4 separate regions of the Homo sapiens genome follow, and all the other regions are linked to region 4. Evidence: promoter capture Hi-C in 16 types of primary human blood cells and fetal thymus (Javierre and others, 2016). All regions are on one chromosome and are shown on one strand. The core of a region is centred on a gene start or on the middle of the fragment in contact, and the rest is flanking DNA. Distances in the headings are between cores, read along the strand shown. Region 1 overlaps FAM167A-AS1 (FAM167A antisense RNA 1). Region 2 overlaps MTMR9 (myotubularin related protein 9). Region 3 overlaps FAM167A (family with sequence similarity 167 member A). Region 4 holds the start of NEIL2 (nei like DNA glycosylase 2).

Region 1 (2,700 bases), core at 173-2,672, 380 kb before region 4:
TAAAATATTAATACCACAGCCACTTTGGCATACAATTTGGCAGTTGCTTAAAAGACAAAACATGCAACTACCATACAACTCAGCAATTGCTCATATAAACTGAATATTTCTAAAATTCCCAGAAAATAAGAAAATTGAATTTCTAATACCAATTCAGAAACCAAGTTCACATAATTAAGATTAATCTTTGGCAAACTAGACTAGTTTAATAATTTTGATTCAGGCTGTGTGGGGGCTAACGCCTGTAATCCCAGCACTTTGGGAGGCCAAGGCGGGTGGATCATCTGAGGTCAGGAGTTGGAGACCAGCCTGGCCAACATGGTGAAACCCTGTATCTATTACAAATACAAAAATTAGCCAGGCGTGGTGGTGCGCACCTGTAATCCCAGTTACTCGGGAGGCTGAGGCAGGAGAATCACTTGAACCCAGGAGGCGGAGGTTGCAGTGAGCTGAGGTCGTGCCACTGCACTCCAGCCTGTGTAACAGAGCAAGACTCTGTCTCAAAATATTATTAATAATAATTTTGATTAAAAAATTGCCACGTTACTTCTCCTATTTATCGATGTATATAACACAAGCATGCATTTTATTTGGTTTGTCTTTCCTAAACTCGTACAAGCTTACTCATCAAATAAGCGATTACTTAATGTTACATAATGTTGAGGATCATTAAACCAGGAAATTTGTGCTCAACTAAATTCATTCGTTATGGTGACAAACTTTTTCTTTCAACAGCAATTATATTTTGTAGCTGGAAGATACTTTTCTAGGTGTTTAGATGACTTAGAATTTGGGGCTGATATTAAGTTGAGTTAATGGATAATCACTGTATAGTTAGATGACCTCTAAATACTATCAAATGACAAAACATTGATTATGCAACATAATTTTAGGTTTATATGCAATTGCTTTTTATTTGTTGTGCTTTAGAGAGGCTGTATCTTGGGATCAGATGCATGACTGCTCATTTTTGAACTTTCAGAAGGCGTAAAAGGAATGTGTGTGGCTATAGAAGGTTGGTTATGAACTTTGCTATTCTGCTGAAATCTTTGTCTAAGATAAACAGTTCTCACTTCTCTACCCACCATTTTTCTCTGTGAAGTAGAAGACATTTTGGCTAGTAATGAAAATTAATATGGTTAAGATAAATCTGTATGAGTTAAAAAAATTAATATGGTAGTTGGAGCTATGCAAGGAGCAATAGTGAGAGAGAAACCCAACTGTGCCTGAGCTTTTGTTTTTCAAGGAAAAAGCATTTCTTTTGCTAAAGCAGTAATTATCAAACGTTTTGGGAGAGGCTTCCGTTCACAAAGGAGGAGCTCCCCATGTTTCTCATGGGAACTTGTCCAAGCGTATCTCTTACATAGCAAATCCCATCTTGCCACCCCTGCTCAGAGGCCCCAGATCCACATGCACCTTTCTTCCCAAGAAAGAAGACCTGTTGTCATTGTTTGCACACCTGCCGCCCATTGGACTGGATGCTCTCCTGATAGCCCTGTTTGCTCACCTCCATTCAAAACACATTTTCATTACTGAACCAGATGCCAGGAAAACAAGCATTTCATCTTCTATGAAAATTGTGTAGGGTCGTATTGGTTTTAGAGGATTGTTGTGAGACAGAAATGAAACAGTGCCAGTGAAACAGAGCAGATGTACATCAGTGTGGGTCCATTTGAAGTCTGGATGGACGGAGTGGCACCCCAGCCTCCTCAAGGAAGCCAGGACCCAAGAGTTGCCTTTCACTTTTGCCTCTCAAGGAACCTGATATAACCAACATGAAAAAAACACACTCAGAGCTCAAGAGGGCTGGCCCTTCCCAGGACAGATGCTGCAGAGACTGGATGCATTTTTTCCTGCCCAACCAACCTTGGCGACAGGTTGCTGGGCTCTCATTCATGAAGCTACCTGCCTGGGGAAATGAGTCAATCCAGTTATTAGCTCACCAAGGGCTTTTATTCTTGACAAGGTACTGATACCCTATCTACCTCCACTGCTTGGGAATAGCTGACTTGGACTTAAGTCTGTGGGAATCAAGATATCAGAATACCTAGAGAAGCTGGAGAAATGCACTCCCAACAAATGCCACCTCAGTGTCTGTCACAGCAGCCGTCTTTGAAAGTTGTCCGGCATCCTGACGGCCATGCACAGATTCCATCATGGTGCTTTAAAATTATTTACTAAAACCCACAGAGAAAAGAGGTAAGAAGATACTTCCATGTTATTCCCAAAGCTTCTTGTGAATAATCTTACTGAACCCCCACCGTGATCTTCCCCAGCTGGGTGATCAAGCCAGGACCACCTGAAAATGCTCTCCTAATGCCTGAGTCTATTGTTCAGGGACGTGGTGTCCTTTCTTCATTCCCTGGGCACTCTTAGAGAGATCATGCACCCTGCCTTTCTCTCCTCCTCAGTGTCGAACCTCAGGTAACATTTCTCCCAATTCCCACTCCTCTTCCTCCAGGGAATCAAAGGCCTTTTGCCAACTTTTAAAATCCAAACGCCCAACTGCACACTAGATGTTACATTTTTTTTTTTTTAGAGGAGAGGGTGCTGTCTTTTCATCAGATTCTCAAAGGGTCCCCTTCCACCCCAAAGGATAAAGAACCACGATGCTAAAGGATGTCCACCTAAAGGGCGACAGCTCTAGTGTGAGGGTACAAGCTTGCCATCTCACTCCCACCACCTGCCCAGGGCAGCAGG
Region 2 (2,706 bases), core at 195-2,694, 470 kb before region 4:
AAGTGGACAAGTGCGACGGGATGGAGAGCACAGTACATTTGGACCAACAGAAGCGGCATTGCAGATCAATGGAGAGCCCTGTCATTCTCCAGAGTAGGAAATCAATAATAATATATCATAGTGAAAGTTCAAGAAATAACAGTATTATCATGTTGTTTAGAAATGTAAAGGTAAACACTGAAAAAGCTAAAAATGTTGAAAATGATTGCCTTTGGGGAAAGCAAATTGGGATGGGCTAGCAAGGAACAGATAACTACATTTTTTTAAAAATAATAAATCTTTAGAAACTGTGTTTTTTTTAAATTAATTAATTAATTATTTTTTGAAACAATCTCACTCCAGTTGCCCAGGCTGGAGTGCAGTGGCGCTGTCACAGCTCACTGTGGCCTCGACTTCCTGGGCTCCCGTGATTCTTTCACCTCAGCATCCTAAGTAGCTGGAAATACAAGTGTGTGCCACTGTGCCTGGCTAATTTTTGCATTTTTAGTGGATATGGGGTTTGGCCATGTTGCCCTGGCTGGTCTTGAACTCCTGAACTCAAGCAATTTGCCTGCCTTGGCCTCCCAAAGTGCCGGGATGATAGGTGTGAACCACTGTGCCCAGCCTAGAAACTATGTTTTTAAACTGGTAACATAAATAACTTTGAAAAGTGAAAAAATTTAATTAAAAATGTGATACTGTATCTTATAAAAGCATTTTTTAAAAGTAATAATCTTGTCTGTTAGTACGTCTAACATACTTTTTAGCTTTATCTTCCTGCTATTGTAACCCATGGTTAGGCCAACTCAGATATACAGAACATATTGAAATTTACATATAATTTGATTTTTTTTTTTTACTGTAAAACCTTTTGACAGTGTTCAAGCTGTTTTTAATTCTGATGTTTAAAATAAGTTGTCATTTGATAGTTTTATATTGTATACTTCTAGTCCTTACTCAGTTTGAAATTATTTCATTGACTCCTAAGCTTAACCTTCCTTAGTATTGAGTTGGTACTGTTTTAAGAAAGGTGTTACCAATCTTAGTACATTTTTTACCTTTTTTAAAATAAACAAAGGGTTTGATATAGATAGTAGCTGTGTTCTCATTTGTTCTGGGGATGCATTATCTGGAGTCGTACAGTCTTACTTGTGCTTTAAGAGGATCATTAACAAACTAAATGGGACCCAGAAAAGGAAGAAGTAGGATGATGTTGGCCGTGATAATTGTGGATGTGCTTAATATATTTAACTTGGAGAATAGAACACTAAGGAGGATCAGCTGTCTTTCAAACATTTGATGGGATACCGTGTAAAATAGGGAACTTGTACGGTGTTGTCTGAAAGTACAGTAAAAACCAATAGAGGGAGCTACAGAGCAACAAGTTTTGCTCAGTGTGAGAAAGCACTTTCTGGGAACTGGTGATACCTAGCAATGCAGGAAGCTGGCCCTGAACCATAGAGCTCCTTTTCTCTGCAGCTACTTACATATAAGCTAGAGATCCACCTGTGAAATTCCTGAGAAATGGCTTCTTCATCAGTGAAAGTTGACCTCTAAGGTCTTTTAAAATTTCTCAGATTATTTTGCGACATTGAGATAGTTGCTTAGCTTTGAAGTATTTTGTGTTTTTCAGACCAGTGAATGGAGGCTAAGCTATGTCAATAAGGAATTTGCTGTCTGTCCCTCTTACCCACCAATTGTCACAGTGCCCAAATCCATCGATGATGAAGCTCTTCGGAAGGTAGCTACATTTCGACATGGAGGGCGCTTCCCAGTACTAAGCTATTACCACAAAAAAAATGGGATGGTAAGTGCACAGCACTACTGCTTGATGTACTGAAAGGCTTGGGTTGGGGATCTTTTCGTAGAAATGTTCCCTTTTGCTCTCTGTCTGTTCACTGAAATGATTGTCCAGGTCTCCACCACAAGGGCTTCCTTCATGTAAGCTTTAGGGAATCAGGAGTAGGGTGTTTTCTGTGGTGAGGATGTGATGCTGAATTCTTTCCATGATCCTGCTCAGCCGTATAAAAGCCCTGATAGCTTTATCTCCAGGACACTATACAAAGGAAACTAGTGTTTATTTGATGCTTACAGCAACATTCTTCTGGTAGAAAAATGAGAAATTTCTCTGTTCAGAATAATGGTAAAATACTTGAATTTTTCTTAACAACTTTACACGTGAAAGGTGGAGCAGACGTATTTATTTTCAAAGGTGAAAAGAGTGATGCTCATGTCATTTAGTCACAACTCTAGTAAACACTGGAGTCAGGATTAAACAAGGAGTTAAGATAACTACCTTGTAATGGTGGCGTCTTGAAAGAACTCTAAACCATTCGCCAGGGAAGAGATTAGTATAATAGACATTGATTTCTAGAGAAAAGTTTCAAAAGCAAACATTTCCAGATGTATAGTTGGTGGGGTAGTTTTTAGAAACAAGTAGTTAAATCCTTGAATACTGAAAAGGATGGTAGAGGCCACTGGAGAATACATAATAGACAGTCAGCTTCTGAGGTAGTGAAAATGATTTCCCAAACAATGAGAACAGTGTTTGAACTTTTAAATTTTGCCACTGGTGCCTTTACTTCTTATAATTGTTGTTAAAACCTGCCAACTCTATGTATGTTTAGTTGAAGTCAAGGTTTACTGGCTCATAGGCCATTATTGTCTTTATTACAGGTCCAGGTCTACAGGTATTTGATTCACACACTAAATGAATTGCAATATTTG
Region 3 (2,732 bases), core at 45-2,544, 330 kb before region 4:
TTAATTTTTCAAACTTGGAAGGTGTGGGCCAAACTACACACCTTCAGGGGTGAGGCTGGCCTTTGGGAAGGACAGAGTGATGCATTCCGAAGAGCCCCTAGATCTGCCACTAGGGGCTCTGGGTTCCAGTCCTAGTGCAGCCTCTGATGACATGATGACTCTGGACAGGTGGCATGTGCCCTACACAGAGAGAGGATGCTGATCACCTTCCTCCCCTCCCATCAGATTGCATCTTGGAACTGAGGAGGTTCTGGAAGCTGTACACCCAAGGAAGACATTCTGTGCCGGAGAGAGAGTGGGAGAGATGTGACTGCTGCTGGCTGGGTGAGGACAGGCCCAGAGGACAGCATCACTGGCACCCACCCCTGCATTTGGGTCCTCTGCACCTCAGCTCCCAGCATCTGGGCCTCCTCCCTGCCTGCCTCCCCCCCTCACTCAATCTGTCTCCACTCAAGAGGCTGATGGGCAGGTCTCCCTGCTTCTTCAAATCTTTCAAAGGTATCACGGGACCCTCCTGTTCCCTTGACCTCTCCAGCCTCCTCTCCCACTCTGATGCCCTTGCCCCCACAGGGCAGCCACACTGAGGTTCTGTCCCCTCCCCTGTGGTCCCTTCTCCACCTGTCACCCTTCAGGACCAGCTCAGCCTTTGTCCCTCTCCCTGCAGAGGGGATGACAGCCCCATGGGCGCCTGCTACCACTGCCCCTCCATGCGGCCTCCACCATGGCACCCACGTGTTGGGCATTGGTTTCATTTTTTATCATGTGTCTAGATGACAAAACACCAGAGGAGAGACAGAGACTGGGGCCACCACAGTGCCTAGGGCATGCTCTGGTGCTCAAAAGCCATTTGTTAGATGAATGAATCAATGAATCAATCCGTTAGTTAAATTTCCCCAGAGCCAAGTCTTGATTTTCCACACTACATTACCCAGTACCTGTCTCCACGGCTGGGACAGTCCTGGAGACCTCACTCCTCCCTCTGCTACCCGGGCTGACCGCCACCCTCTGGGATCTCCCACTGCCCCCAGGCCTGTGGAGAGGCAGCCAGTAGAAAGGACAGAGGAGCAGCCCCTGGTTCAAAGTCCTTCTCTTCAACTTGCTGGTGACGCCACCCTGGGCAAGTCACCCCACACCTAAGCTTCAATTTCCTCATCTGCTACATGAGCATAATAGTACCCACTTACTGATAATAATTGACCGTAATTAAATGGGCACACACTACTGATCATTTATGAGAATTAAATAAGCCCATATCCACACACTTTGTACAGGACATCGAGTTCCGGAATTACTAGTTCCACCATATCCCGTCTTCATACACAGAACCACAGAGCAAACCATTCAGTTACGTTTTTACTTCCCATGTGGCGCTTGCCCCAGCTCCTGGGTGCCGGGTCCCTGCCAGAGCCTTTTTTGCTCCTCACAGCCTGGCTCAGGGCGGGTCCCCAGCCCAAGCTTCACCCACCTTTACTGAGCGCTCCCTTATCGCTGACAACTGTACTGCCTGTCACACGTCACCAAGCATGGTCCGGGGTTGGGTAGGGCTGTGTTATTGTCTCTATCACCAAGTGTTGCCAACGTCAAAGGGCTGGTAATGCCAATACACTTCAGACTGGAGATGCGGTGGGGACCCTCCCACTCAGGGGTGTCCTTAGCTTGCACATGAGGAGGGCCAGGCCCGCCACTAGGGGCCAAGGCCTTCCTCAACTTCCCTGCCACTCCCCTGGAGAGCAAGTGGGGGCCCTCGTGAGGCCAAGCAGCCAGTCCCAGGACTGCTGCCCCTGCCAGGCTGCGAGCATGGCCCAGGTACGGCTGTTCTTGCTGGGCCCCCGGCAAGACCTGCAGGAAGGGCTGGCTCCCTCACCTCTGTGAGCTCGGCCATGCTGCTGGGGGTCTCTGGGCCAGTCGGCGGAGGGAGAGAAGACACCCCCTAGCAGGGGCTGTCTCCCTGCTCCGACAGGAGCTCCCCTGCACGGCCTTCTCAATTCCACCTGCAGGAAGGCCTCCCCCATCTGCAGGCAGGAATTGGGGCTTGCATTACATGAAACTGGAAGCTTTAGCCAAGGTGATAACTGTCCTATGGAAATGGAGTGCCGAAGTGCCCTGGGGTCACCTGAGAGCCCTCAGAAGACCCCTGGGGCACAACTGTTGGGATTTCTGGGCTTTTCTTGGGTTCTCTATCCCCTGCTTTGGAAACAGATGTAGCGGGAGCTTCACATCTGATGCTGAGCGAGAACCAGCTAGGAAGGTGTCAGTAGGCTGCTAACCTCAAGGGAGGGAGAGCTGAGGACAGGACATGAGCTGCTGGAGTGGGGACCTGTGGGATTAAATAGGGCTCCCAGGCACCTGCAGTTGCTATAGATTCCTGCCTGCGCCTCCAAAGGGAAGTGAGGCAAATCTATTTTCTGCCCCAGCCTCCAGGCAAGTTTGAGGCTGTTTTGTTCTCCAAAGTCACTTCATACTCCATTACTCGGGTACCTGTCTTCTTGGGAAGAACATGCTTTGGGCTTCAGCTGCCAGGGGCCTCACAGTTTCCTATAGCATGGTGGGTGAATCCAGACCCACTGCAGGGCTTTGAGGTCGGGCAGATCTGAGTTCAAATTCCTGCTCTGCTGATTGATCTTGGGCAAGTTTTTTAACCTCAGTTTTCTCATCTGTGAAATGGGGATAGTAATCGTGCCTACCCGGAAAGATTGCTGTGGCTACTGAATGATGTGAGGCGTGTGTATAAA
Region 4 (2,700 bases), core at 82-2,581:
ATAGAAAGAGGGGGACCAGAGGCTCTTCAAGGGATGCCTCCTGCAAACCCCATGCCCTCCAACCTCATCCCCTCTGCCTCCAGATGCCTTTCTAGATGAGGACCCTATACCCTAGGCCTCCCCAGGCCTCCCTCTCCTCACCTCCTGCCCTAGCCTGTTCAGTAGGTGACCACTGTGGGAAGGCCACTTGTAACCTCCCTCTCAATCAGTAGGACACAACCATGTCTCTGACGGTGGGCTGGGCTTGTTTCCCTGTGCTGACCAAGTCCTTCCCCAGGGACCCCTCAGCTAGGGTCCATGGTGACTTCACCCCAGCCTATTTCCTGAACACCTGCTGGGGAGTTCCCCAGACTTTCCTCCCAACTTCCTGGAAAGTGCTGGCTCCCCATCCTCCTTCGAGAACTAAAGACAAGAAAACATATGTATCTTTAAACAGCCTATTGTTTTATCTCTTTTATTCTATGAAATAAAAAATTTAATACACAAATACTTTAAGCAAAATTTGCTTATAGTAAAAATTCAAGTAATAAAATTCAAATAATAGAAAGCAAAAAAATCCCACCCGTTCAACATTTCACGAGTCTTGAACACCTGTTTCCTTTGCACCCGACTTCATTAGGCTCGGAGGCCAAGCAGAACCCACAGAAAGGCTTGCCATTGTGGGAACACCCAGGCTGTCCCATTCACACACCCATTGACTTTTCCCTATAACTGTCTCCTTGAGACAAGAAATGTTCCAAAAGGGCCGGGTGCGGTGGCTCACGCCTGTAATCCCACCACTTTGGGAGGCCGAGGAGGGCGGCTCACCTGAGATCAGGAGTTCAAGACCAGCCTGGCCAACATGGTGAAACCCGGTCTCTACTAAAAATACAAAAATTAGCCGGGCGCCAGTAATCCCAGCTACTCGGGAGGCTGAGGCAGGAGAATGGCTTAAGCCCAGGAGGCGGAGGTTGCAGTGAGCCGAGATCGCGCCACTGCACTCCAGCCTGGGTGACACAGCGAGACTATCTCCCCCCGCAAAAAAAAAAAGTTTCCAAGAGCGTCTCTCCAATGTTAGTCCCAGCCTGCACCCTTCTTCCATCCCTGCTTTCACTCGCGACCCTCTAATGCAGCCCTGCCTCCAGCGACCCCCGGGATGGAACCCCTCGCCCACCCACAAAAGAGCAGCCTCGACCTAGACCCACTTTCCAGGGAATGAGCCCTGCGCCTGCGCGCACCCCGCCACCCCCTCCAGGCCGGAGTCCACGCCCACTTGGGGGAGGAGCCCCGCAGCCTCCACCTACAGGGGCGTCCCCTAAGGGGACGGAGGCCGCATGGGCCGCCGAGCCGGGAAATCTCCGCCCCCAGCTGGAGCGGCTGTGCGGGCTGCGTAGCGGTGCTGGGTCGGGCCGACGTGCCACCCACCCGGAGCCGGTGAGTGCAGCCGCCCGCCCTCCGGTAGATCTGCGGCCTGGCGGAGAAGTCGGGAGGGGACAGGAAGGGAGGGCGGGCCCCGGGCCCTCCTCCGTCTCAGCCGCCTGCGGAGGTGCTGCCCACGCCTGGAGGCCCCCACTGACCCTCAGACCCGCGTCTGCGCCCCTCTCCCCGCACCCCGAGGCAGAGTTGGGAAAGCAGTGGTCTTAGACCCCCCACCTCGGGCACTCGGAAGAGAACGGCGGAGACAACCCCTCCTCTTCCCTGGCTGGCGCAGCGCCAGCCTCGAGCTCCTCGGTAGCCCCCGGGCAGGGAGGGCCGGAGGGTGGGCGCGGCATCTTCAGCGACTCTTCGAAGTCCCTTCCGCGTCTCATCTTTCAAGGCTGTTGCAGAGGCGGCTTGCTTCCCACCTGTCCATCTCCATAAAAATCCCTAAACGAAACATGCCCACGTGTCCGGAGATTTTCAGGACTTGGTGCATTTCAGATGAAGGCTTTTCCAGAAGCTTCCCCGTAGAAGAGGATCAGGCATCCAACTGGTTAAGGTCAGCAGCGTTTGGCACGTCTCCTTCCAGCCTGGCGGTTTTGTCAGGATTCCCTGGGGAGTGTCTGGAAAGCCTGATGAGGGGAAATAGTACATCTCAGCGAATCGGCACCAGCGAGTGTAAGATGCGCGTTATTGAATGTGCTGCTGCCGAATATGAGAATGCCGAGATTGTGAGCCGTCACCATTTCTTAGATTTTAAAAGTATTCTAAAATGTTTTTTAGAATCACTGAAATATAATAGCTACCCCCTGCCCGATATCTACTTAGTTCTTTTCGATTTTCATCATAACTTATAGAGAGGCTGGTGCAGGAACAGGTGGTTAGGCAGCTGCCCCGGGTGAGGCTGGGAGTCTCCTCTGCCCGAACAGCCCGGGTGTACACCACTCAGACTGCCTCATGTAGGCGGCTGTCAGTGGACTGGGATGATTTGGGGGCAGGGAGAGTAGAGGTGGCCCTGGGAGCCCTGCGTGGTGATTAGAACAGAACCACAGCTGTTTCTCGGGGATCAGAGATAACTGTCTGTAGCTATGCCGGGCTTACCTACGTGGCTGGGGGTCTCACTTATGATTCTGAGCTCTGTCTGCGTGTTGGTCGTTTCATGCACACCTCCCCCACGCTAGTGGTCGGCGGTCCTGGAGGGCGGCATCTGGTCCCTTCAAAAGTGGGAAATAAGTCGGCAGCAGTGGGTCAGAATGGCTGTTTTTTGAGAGCGGGAGCAGGGGGACAGAGAAAGTCAGGAGG

What was found. The method cuts DNA at HindIII sites, captures the fragments that hold promoters and counts their contacts. A CHiCAGO score of 5 or more calls a contact.
Region 1: a contact is called between a fragment that was not itself captured here and the fragment with the promoter of NEIL2 in region 4, in 1 of 17 cell types (naive B cells). The highest score is 6.0, in naive B cells.
Region 2: a contact is called between a fragment that was not itself captured here and the fragment with the promoter of NEIL2 in region 4, in 1 of 17 cell types (total B cells). The highest score is 6.9, in total B cells.
Region 3: a contact is called between a fragment that was not itself captured here and the fragment with the promoter of NEIL2 in region 4, in 1 of 17 cell types (naive B cells). The highest score is 5.2, in naive B cells.

The regions. Positions count from the first base shown.
Region 1 is chr8:11,385,856-11,388,555 of GRCh38, forward strand. The region is part of intron 2 of FAM167A-AS1 (FAM167A antisense RNA 1); the gene reads left to right. Among named protein-coding and RNA genes, the nearest start is that of FAM167A-AS1, 19 kb to the left of the region's middle. The HindIII fragment of the contact is 1,611 bases long and covers 618-2,228 here.
Region 2 is chr8:11,303,229-11,305,934 of GRCh38, forward strand. It overlaps MTMR9 (myotubularin related protein 9), which reads left to right. Exons shown (of 10, transcript NM_015458.4): 4 at 1,613-1,786. Among named protein-coding and RNA genes, the nearest start is that of MTMR9, 20 kb to the left of the region's middle. The HindIII fragment of the contact is 958 bases long and covers 966-1,923 here.
Region 3 is chr8:11,434,605-11,437,336 of GRCh38, forward strand. The region is part of intron 2 of FAM167A (family with sequence similarity 167 member A); the gene reads right to left. FAM167A-AS1 (FAM167A antisense RNA 1) reads left to right here. Exons shown (of 7, transcript NR_026814.1): 5 at 226-498. Among named protein-coding and RNA genes, the nearest start is that of FAM167A, 31 kb to the right of the region's middle. RefSeq lists enhancers at 1,298-1,817, 1,818-2,337. The HindIII fragment of the contact is 317 bases long and covers 1,137-1,453 here.
Region 4 is chr8:11,768,379-11,771,078 of GRCh38, forward strand. It overlaps NEIL2 (nei like DNA glycosylase 2), which reads left to right and starts at 1,332. Exons shown (of 5, transcript NM_145043.4): 1 at 1,332-1,957. It overlaps LOC124901888 (a long non-coding RNA gene), which reads right to left. Exons shown (of 2, transcript XR_007060824.1): 1 at 2,500-2,700; 2 at 424-2,030. RefSeq lists silencers at 1,143-1,552, 1,593-1,722 and an enhancer at 1,482-1,982. The HindIII fragment of the contact is 12,492 bases long and covers 1-1,916 here.